Regions from separate parts of the Homo sapiens genome. Here all the other regions are linked to region 1. The links are contacts of gene promoters, found by promoter capture Hi-C in blood cells and fetal thymus (Javierre and others, 2016). All regions are on one chromosome and are shown on one strand. The core of a region is centred on a gene start or on the middle of the fragment in contact, and the rest is flanking DNA. Distances in the headings are between cores, read along the strand shown. Region 1 holds the start of ABCD3 (ATP binding cassette subfamily D member 3). Region 2 overlaps ABCA4 (ATP binding cassette subfamily A member 4). Region 3 overlaps SLC44A3-AS1 (SLC44A3 antisense RNA 1).

Region 1 (2,825 bases), core at 180-2,679:
GCAAATCATTTTCAACTCTGTTAAATGGATTTAGGAAGGAAAAGAAAGATCATCACTTCAGACTCTAGTAAGATAAAAACAGAAGGCGGCTAGAAAGAACTTAATGGAAAGGGTACTATAAACTAGAAGTCTATTTGTGTTTTAGCCCAAATTTTACTACTAATTAGATATTGTAGGCAAATCAAACACGGGAGGCAACAGTACCTGCTCAGAGGAATGAATGAAATAAAATTCATGAAAGTAGTATGTCAAGATTTAATACGAAATATTCAATGACTGGCAAGAACGCTTGGGAAGTAGCCTTTTCTCTTTCACTTGTCCAGCAAATAAAAATTGCATGTATGTGACATACATACCTGTATGTCGCAACCGTAATTCAGCTCTCTCTTTTTTACTTTTTCTGAACTGATAACCTCCCAAAGTTAAATCTAAGCACTGAAATTCTCCCGCGGTGGAAGCAGTGGCGTGTCATTAAAAAGGAGCTTGATCCTCACCTAAACCACACTCTCATCTTTCACCTACAGAGCCCAGGAAGGAAAACATTTCCCTCTAAGTCCGACAGAACCGATCCAGCCTTTCCGGATGAAATGCCACCGACCAAATGTTCACCGACCAAAGGGTTCACCGACTCCAAGGGCTCACCACTTTAGACGGCAATCCTGCCAAGTGGACCGGGAATAGTTTCATAGAAGCCACCCTCGCGACTTTCAATAGCAGTTAGTCGGGAATCGAGCCAAACCTCGTCCAAGTGACTTAGACACCAGCCTCCAGCCTGGCGAATCCAATCCCCATCCTCAATCACACATCCACGTCCCCAAAACAAATCCTTCACGGTCTGAAGATGAGATGGCAAAACCAGAACACACCCAGAAAGTTGACACAGAAGGGGGTGATGTAGGGAAGGGGGTGGGGGACACACCGCATCCCCCTCCCACCCCCAACTGGAGGCCGCTGCCTGAGTGCTGGCTGGGCGCCGGTTCGCCCGCGGGCACAGAAGAATTCGCACTCCCGGGGTGGAGCGAGGTCGCCGGACAGGCCAGCTGGGACCGACGCCGTCGTGGCGGGGACTCGCGGACACCCTGACATTGAAGTCCCACGGCAGTCGCGGTCGGCCCTCTCTCCGCCCGACCCCGTCGGGCAAAGAGACCTGTCGGCCGGGTGGGGAGAGAGAGCGCGCGGGGAGCGCCCGCTCCAGCCCGGGAAAGCTGCACGGCTACGGGCCTTCTTACCCGTGCAGGCCGAGGGCGCGGCGCCGCTTGTGGAGCAGGCAGAGCAGCAGGAACGCGGCACCAGCCAGCGAGGAGTTTCGCGCCGTCAAGTACTTGCTGAAGGCCGCCATGGCACTGCCGGTACCAGCGAGCCGGCGAGGGGACGCGGCGGCGGCGGCGGCGGCGGCTACCTTACTGCACGCAGCGCGGGGGAGACTGGGAGGAGAGCAGAGGGCGGGGCCGGCCGCGCAGGACCGCCCCCTGGCTCGCGCCGCCGCGCCGCCCGCGCTCTGGAGCCCACTTTGTACTTTGGCCCGGCGGGAGCGCGCTCGGCAGCCTCCGTGGGCGGAACAGTTCCCGGGACGCGCTCTGCGCACGCGCGGACTCCTTCAGGGTCTCCGGAAACGCGGCGCGGAGGAGCTGTTGCTACTCAGCCCTGCGAGGCGTCAGTGCTGCCCCTGCCTCACCCCTACCCTCCCACTCTTCGCGCGCACACCCCGGCTTTCACAATAACTGGATGAGCGGGCCTGGCCTGCAGCGACGACCTAGTGGGCCCTGCCTCTCCACTCCCGCGGTGATGTACCGTTACCACCCTCTTAAAGGAGCCCAGGAAGGAGGCGGACGGCCCCGTCACAGAGCGTGTAGGGAAAACACAGCACAGTGATTATCAGGACGAAACCAAACAATCGGAACTCCGCAGAGGTGTAGGGAGATGTGAGGAGAATGACACAGATCAAAGAGCTTTTTCCAAGCCAGTATTTTCCAAACCGCGGGTTATAATCTCTAGCGCATTGTGAAATTGGTTTGGTAGATCGGGATCATCACCCTCCGTTTTTAATAAAATTGAGAATAGAACAAAATAGAAAAGTTTCACAGTACATCACGTAGTAAAGGAGTTGTTTAGAGAAATTTCGATTTCAGTGTTTTGCACGTATGTATCGCCAGCGGCGATGTAAAATGTATGCAGATCTGGTCAGAAAAAAGTTTGAGAAACACTGTTCTTTGCAAAGGGACATTCAGAAGTAACAATCGTGCGTTGTATTAATGCTGGCCTCACTCCCAGAATCAGAAGGGCTTTGCAGATTACAACATTCTTCTCCTGTCTGACCCTATGTTGCAGGAATTGTTATCGCCAGCATTGAGCCTAGCATATATACAGTAACAGTGAATCGCTGTTTTCAGCTGAGGAAACTGGAGAAAAGCAAGTGTGTCAGAAAATAAGCTCATAAAACCTCGCATAATGCACATACATATTAAAGTAGCCTACAAAGTAGTGGTGCTGTGCCCTAGGTGTTTTCTCAATATAAATGAGCTGTTGCCTAATACAGGTTATGAGGATCACAAAGACGAGGTACAATAATGGCATGCGTATAGAGGTGCTCAACAGTGAATTCTAAATTATGCAGAACTGAAGCTCCTACTAATTCACTATTTGTCATGTGGACATTTTCATTACCTGGAGGGACAAAAGGTTTTGGCCCTCTGAAAGTTAACTGAAAACCGCTGACATAAGGCAGATTAATAGAAGAAAAAATTAATAGGAGAAAAGGCATACAAATTTAATGTGTATACATGGGAGCGTTCAGAATGGAGACCCAAAGATACTTGGAAAATTGT
Region 2 (2,825 bases), core at 1-2,500, 340 kb after region 1:
ATTGGAGTTAGATCAAAATACAACAAGCAGGCCCCAAAGGCCTTCATTCCAAGCAGTCACCAAGTGGGGTCACTGACTTTGGATGAGAAATATGTTTCTTGAATTCTGGGAGAAGTCTAAAAGCTGCCACAAGACCAGTGGCTTCCTGGAGTTTCCTACTTTTATGAATTCACTCAAGGGCCTCAAATTCAAAGAGGCATCTCCCCAAGGGGCCAGCTCTGTAACTCCAAAGATGGTGGAATGTGTTTGTCTGGTCTCATTTTCAGCTTTGCAAAATGAAGACAAGAGTTCTATATATCAGGGACACTCAAAAGAAAACAAAAATATCCATAAGCAAAAGAAAGCTTTTTATACACCATATTCAATGACCCCCATCTGGCCCCTCCTTTGCCCCTACACATCTTCCCTCTATTCTAGAGACCCATGGACTTGGGGAAATGGGATATAGATAGGTATGTTTCATAGTGGAACAAGCTCACCAGCTCTTCAGGGAGCCTTAGCATCTCTATCCTCAATCACTAAAAATTAGAAATGGCTGAAGAACAAGACCAAAGATCCTATGGAATTTCTAAGCAGAGCAGTGACTGTATTTCTTCTTCCCAAGGATACCCTGGGGAACCCAACAGTAAAAGACTTTTTGAATAGGCAGCTTGGTGAAGAAGGTATTACTGCTGAAGCCATCCTAAACTTCCTCTACAAGGGCCCTCGGGAAAGCCAGGCTGACGACATGGCCAACTTCGACTGGAGGGACATATTTAACATCACTGATCGCACCCTCCGCCTGGTCAATCAATACCTGGAGGTAAGGGGCTGCAAGCCCCACAGTGGGCCCCTTGAAGATAGCCCCATGAGTGGGGCCAGAGCTCCCTTAGCAAGTCAAGTGGTCTTGAATTTAAGCTTTCATTTTCCCCACTGAAGAAACAAGAATCCCTACATCCCCTGTACAGTTCTCATTCTCTAACAGCTTATCCATACTTAAAACTTATCTATGCTGAAAACGGTTTCCTCTTCACATCTCCTACTTCTCATGCTGGGCACCTCCTCCTGTAGCCCCCTTTAAGCATCTGTGTCTGTCCTCAACCCTCTTCTGTCTGACATTGCTTGAGTGGCCATCTATGGCCAGTGTCCCCTCAACCCCACAGTCCATTGCTTGCTGGACACTCCTGCCCTCAAGTTCTACAAGCACATCAGCCTCAACATGTCCCCTCCAAAAACTGTATGTTCTCCTTGCCCATAGAACATATCCTTCTCCTATATTTCCTATCCTAATTAACGTCCTCAGCATTTGCCCGAATTCTCAAGTGAGGGATTTCAGGGTCATCCCTAATTTTCCTTCTTCACCCTCCACACAGTAGCTGTCACTTACTGAGTGTTACTTTATGCCAAGTACTGTGCCAACTGCTTTTACACACATATGCTTCATTTAATTCTCACAGCTCCATGAGGCTTGCACCATTATCATTGCCAATTTGCAGATGAGAAGCCAGGGCTTAAAGAGGTTAAATAAGATCCCACGCATGACCATTAAGAGGAGCGAACAGGATCCAGCTCTGGGGGTGCCTGAGTTCAGAGCCTGCCTTTCTGATTTCTCTTACCAAGCTTTGTCTCCTCTCCCTCCTAAATATCTCTCAACTCTGCCTCTTGCATTCCAGGCTCTCTGAGGACTAGAGGCCTTGTCATCTCTGCGCCAGCCCATTCCAAGGGCTTCCTTCCTGGAATCCAGGGTCCAGCCTCTGTTGGCCCAGGCATTTCTCTACACTGGCACCAGAGTTACATTCCGCACACCTGCTTACGTTGCTCTCTCACTTAAAATCTTAATGACTCGACCCCCAAATAACACAGGTCCCTTCCAAATCTGTCCTACCCCACCTTCCCAGCCCTTGCTCAACTCTGCTACCTGGCCCTTTCACGCCTACAGGCATTCCCATTCCATGACCTCTTGGGATTCTACCCTTTGCAAATGCTGTTTTCATTGCCCATTTATTAGAGCGCTTTTGGTCACAAGCTTTTTGCTTAACCAAAAAGAAAGCATTTATTGGTGGACATAAATAATGAAGTTCAGGAGGATCCAAGAGTTGGAAGCCACCATGAGACCCCTGTGTCCTTCCACCTCACTTTTCTACTCGCCTCTGCTCAGCTTCATCTCTGGCCAGGCCCTCTCCTCTGCTGATGCCCTAGCTGCTTACAGCCCTTAGCAGTCATCTATACACCAAAAATCCCTTTCCCATAGCAGAAGCAATGCTCCTAGAGAGTTTCCCTGTTGGTCTGGCTCCTGTACCCACCCCTGTGTACTCTGATTGGGAGGCCTGGGTCAGCTGCCCACCATGGGGCCATTTCTATGAGCAGGATTACTGTGAAGTGGAGGAAGATGTTTCCCCAAAAGAAGAAACACAAGGTAGAAAAGTGTATGTCCACCAATGCCTGAAATGACTGTCCCTTTCCTCATCTGCTGAGCTTCTACTCATTCATTCTTTGAGACTCAGCACTCAGCTCTTAAATGTCACTTCTGCTTTGATGGAGGTTTAGTCATTCACTCCTCTGTGCTTCCTGGCCCTCTCTTCACACCTCTCTCAGACCCCTCTCCCAGATAGATTAGAGTTGGCTGTTGACATGTCCATCTCTGGCTGGGCAGCTAAACTGGAGTTATTTAGAATCAGGGAGCACATGTCAGTCATTTTCAAATTCTCAACCTCATACTCCCAGTAAATGACTCCATCTAAGGGTGGACCACTCTTGCCCATGGGCCAGGTCTGGGTCTGTGTCATCTAGAACTGTTGGAAGGTAGGGGCTTCTGTGAGCAGTAGGAGAGGGAATAAACTCGAGGG
Region 3 (2,825 bases), core at 186-2,685, 300 kb before region 1:
TGTGGCGAAACAGGTACTCTGATGTACCATTGGTGAGAGTGTAAATTTGTAGACCCTTTTGAGGGCCATTAAGCAATAATAATTCCAAATTTAGAATTTGGTTGATCTCTGACCCAGCAATTCCTGGAACTTGCAGAGATTTGTCCTACAGGAATAATCAGATAAAGACACCACGTTTATGTAAAAGAATATTAATTGCAGGCCAGGCACGGTGGCTCATGCCAGCACTTTGGGAGGCCAAGGCGGGCGGATCACCTGAGGGCGGGAGTTCGAGACCAGCCTGACCAACATGGAGAAATGCTGTCTCTACGAAAAATAACAAAATTAGCCGGGCATGGTGGTGGATGCCTGTAATCCCAGCTACTTGGGAGGCAGAGGTGGTTGCAGTGAGCCGAGATCACGCCATTGCACCCCAGCCTGGACAACAAGAGTGAAAGTCTGTCTCAAAATATATATATATATTAATTGCAACACTGTCAAAATAGTTAAAATGCAAATAATTTGAACTTTCATCAGTATTGGTTTGGTTAAAAAAAATCATGGTGCAGCCATATGATGGAATATTATGCAATTGTTAAAAGAAAAAAAAGCAAATCCCAAGAGATTTATGTTTTTACAAGGAAAGATGTCCGCAATATATTAAGTGAAAGAGGCAGATTGTAAAGCATTTTATCCATCTGCTCATCCATCCTTCCTTTCATTCTTTTATTCTACAAAAGAGGTGAAAAAATGTATATATATATATCAGACCACTAACAGTTTTATCACCATATTGTCACTGGATCAAGTTAGACTTATTAGGGACTTCCACATTCTACTTCATATTTTGGAGATTTTACAAGCAGATATTATATTTATAGTAATAGCAAAAACAATAAATACTGCCAATCTGGGAGACAGTTTTTCTTCTTGCTTATTAAAGGGCAATTTGAGAGACTTTCCTCTGCTAGCATGTGAGAAACTGGCTGCCACACAGGTAATTTCTGAGGGACCTTGGCTTGGTGGTTTAGCTCCTGATGGCAGGTCTCACATCGCATGGATTAGTGCTGCATTTTTAATGCAGTTTTCTACTTACTCTTTAGAAACCACAAGACAACATTTCACAATCTATTTCCACCCAGCAGACAGGAAAAAACTACGCTCAGTTTTCAACTATCAGTGGAAAAGAATTGTTTGTATAAAAGGAATCTACAAATAATAGACACTTTATCCATTCCTTTTTATCTCTTCCACCTACATTTCTCTCAACCATTCTTTTTCACTTGTTACCAAGACCAAAATAAACTGATTTACAATTTCTCTTTTGCTCATCCTCAATGTGCCCTAGGCCTGACTTGTTCTTAGAGAACCCTCTCTGGCTCCTGTTGGTTAATGGTTTCTTTTTAACCAAATCACAACAGGTTAATTAATACGAGTTTACAGTTTTTCTTGGTATTGATGGCGTGCTCATTTGACTATGGCTAATGGAATTTCATCTTTTTCCTTTCTTAGGAAACTGAAAGTACAGTGTACTTTGTCCACCATATTGGTGACTTTATGTTGACTGAACCTGTTAAGATGGAAGGGGCGACAACTCTGGATACCTGTTAGGATTCATGTTTTTTAGAGTGTGGGAGATAAACCCTTTAGGGCTAAAAGTCTGCATCACCTCATCAAGCAAGCCACCTACACCGCCAGAAGTACTTGCTGGGAGTGGAGGGATTCTAGAAAGAGTGGCAGAGCAGGGAGATGATGAATATCAGCCACAGCCAAGGGACCACTGCAAAGGTTTATGTTAACCACTCACACAAATTTATGTAAAAGAATATTAATTGCAACATTGTTAATAATAGCTCAAATGCAAGTAAGTCAAACTTTCATCAGTAGTGGCTTGGTTAAATGAATAATAATAAATCAGTGGCTTAGTTGAATAAATCATGGTATGCAGCCATACCATAGAATATTATGCAATTGTTAAAAGAAAAAAGCAAATCCCTAGAGATCTAAGTTTGATCCCTAGAGATCAAATAAGTTTGACTTATTTGCATTTTAGCTATTATTAATGTTGCAATTAATATTCTTTATATTCTTTTTTTTTTGAAATGGAGTCTCACTCTGCCACCCAGGCTGAAGTGCAGTGGTGTGATCTTGGCTCACTGCAACCTCCACCTCCCAGATTCAAGCGATTCTCCCACCTCAGCCTCCTGAGTAGCTGGGATTACAGGGGCGTGCCACCACGCCCAGCTAATTTTTGTATTTTTAGTAGCGACAGAGTTTCACTACGTTGGCTAGGCTGGTCTCGAACTCCTGACCTAAGGTGATCGGCCTTCCTCGGCCTCCCAAAGTGCTGGAATTACAGGCATGAGCCACTGTGTCTGGCACAATTAATATTCTTTTGTAGAAACTTGTGTGAATGGTTTACATAAACTTGTGTGAGAAGAGATGTATCTTGTCTCACTAACTCTTATCTTGTTAAGTTTTCCCCCAGAAACTGTGAGTGTCCACCCTCTTGAAGGCGCAGTGGCGGAATGAAGTTCACAGAATGGAAGATGTGAGCTGGTCTGAGTGATGCAAGGGGTGGTCTTGGGTGGGCTCAGTTCCTGCTCCCTCAGAGGCCTTTGGATCTATTTTTGCTGTTTCTGTGAACTCCGCCAGTGCTTTTTGGTGCTTTTGCTTCAAACAGCCCCATACCCGTGACTCTCTTTGGAAGACTGCCATCTGGTTACTACACTGCTTTGCCCACAGGTGCAGAGCCCAGACATGCCAGGAAGTTTCCATCTTTTTAGGGCATCCCTTAGCCAGAGACCAACAGTTTAACGCCACAAAGCCCAGCTCCCTTGTCTCCA

Evidence for each region. Contacts are between HindIII fragments. The CHiCAGO score rates a contact against its expected background, and 5 or more counts as called.
Region 2: a contact is called between a fragment that was not itself captured here and the fragment with the promoter of ABCD3 in region 1, in 2 of 17 cell types (fetal thymus and monocytes). The highest score is 10.5, in fetal thymus.
Region 3: a fragment that was not itself captured here is called in contact with the fragment with the promoter of ABCD3 in region 1 in 1 of 17 cell types (monocytes); the score reaches 5.8 in monocytes.

Annotation. Positions count from the first base shown.
Region 1 is chr1:94,416,993-94,419,817 of GRCh38, reverse strand. It overlaps ABCD3 (ATP binding cassette subfamily D member 3), which reads right to left and starts at 1,429. Exons shown (of 23, transcript NM_002858.4): 1 at 1,230-1,429. The coding sequence starts at 1,339. RefSeq lists enhancers at 838-977, 1,449-2,240 and a silencer at 1,308-1,687. The HindIII fragment of the contact is 10,166 bases long and covers 1-2,825 here.
Region 2 is chr1:94,075,667-94,078,491 of GRCh38, reverse strand. ABCA4 (ATP binding cassette subfamily A member 4) reads left to right here. Exons shown (of 50, transcript NM_000350.3): 11 at 605-802. The region is part of intron 1 of LOC124904222 (a long non-coding RNA gene); the gene reads right to left. Among named protein-coding and RNA genes, the nearest start is that of ABCA4, 44 kb to the left of the region's middle. The HindIII fragment of the contact is 702 bases long and covers 900-1,601 here.
Region 3 is chr1:94,715,433-94,718,257 of GRCh38, reverse strand. The region is part of intron 2 of SLC44A3-AS1 (SLC44A3 antisense RNA 1); the gene reads left to right. Among named protein-coding and RNA genes, the nearest start is that of MIR378G, 29 kb to the left of the region's middle. The HindIII fragment of the contact is 9,375 bases long and covers 1-2,825 here.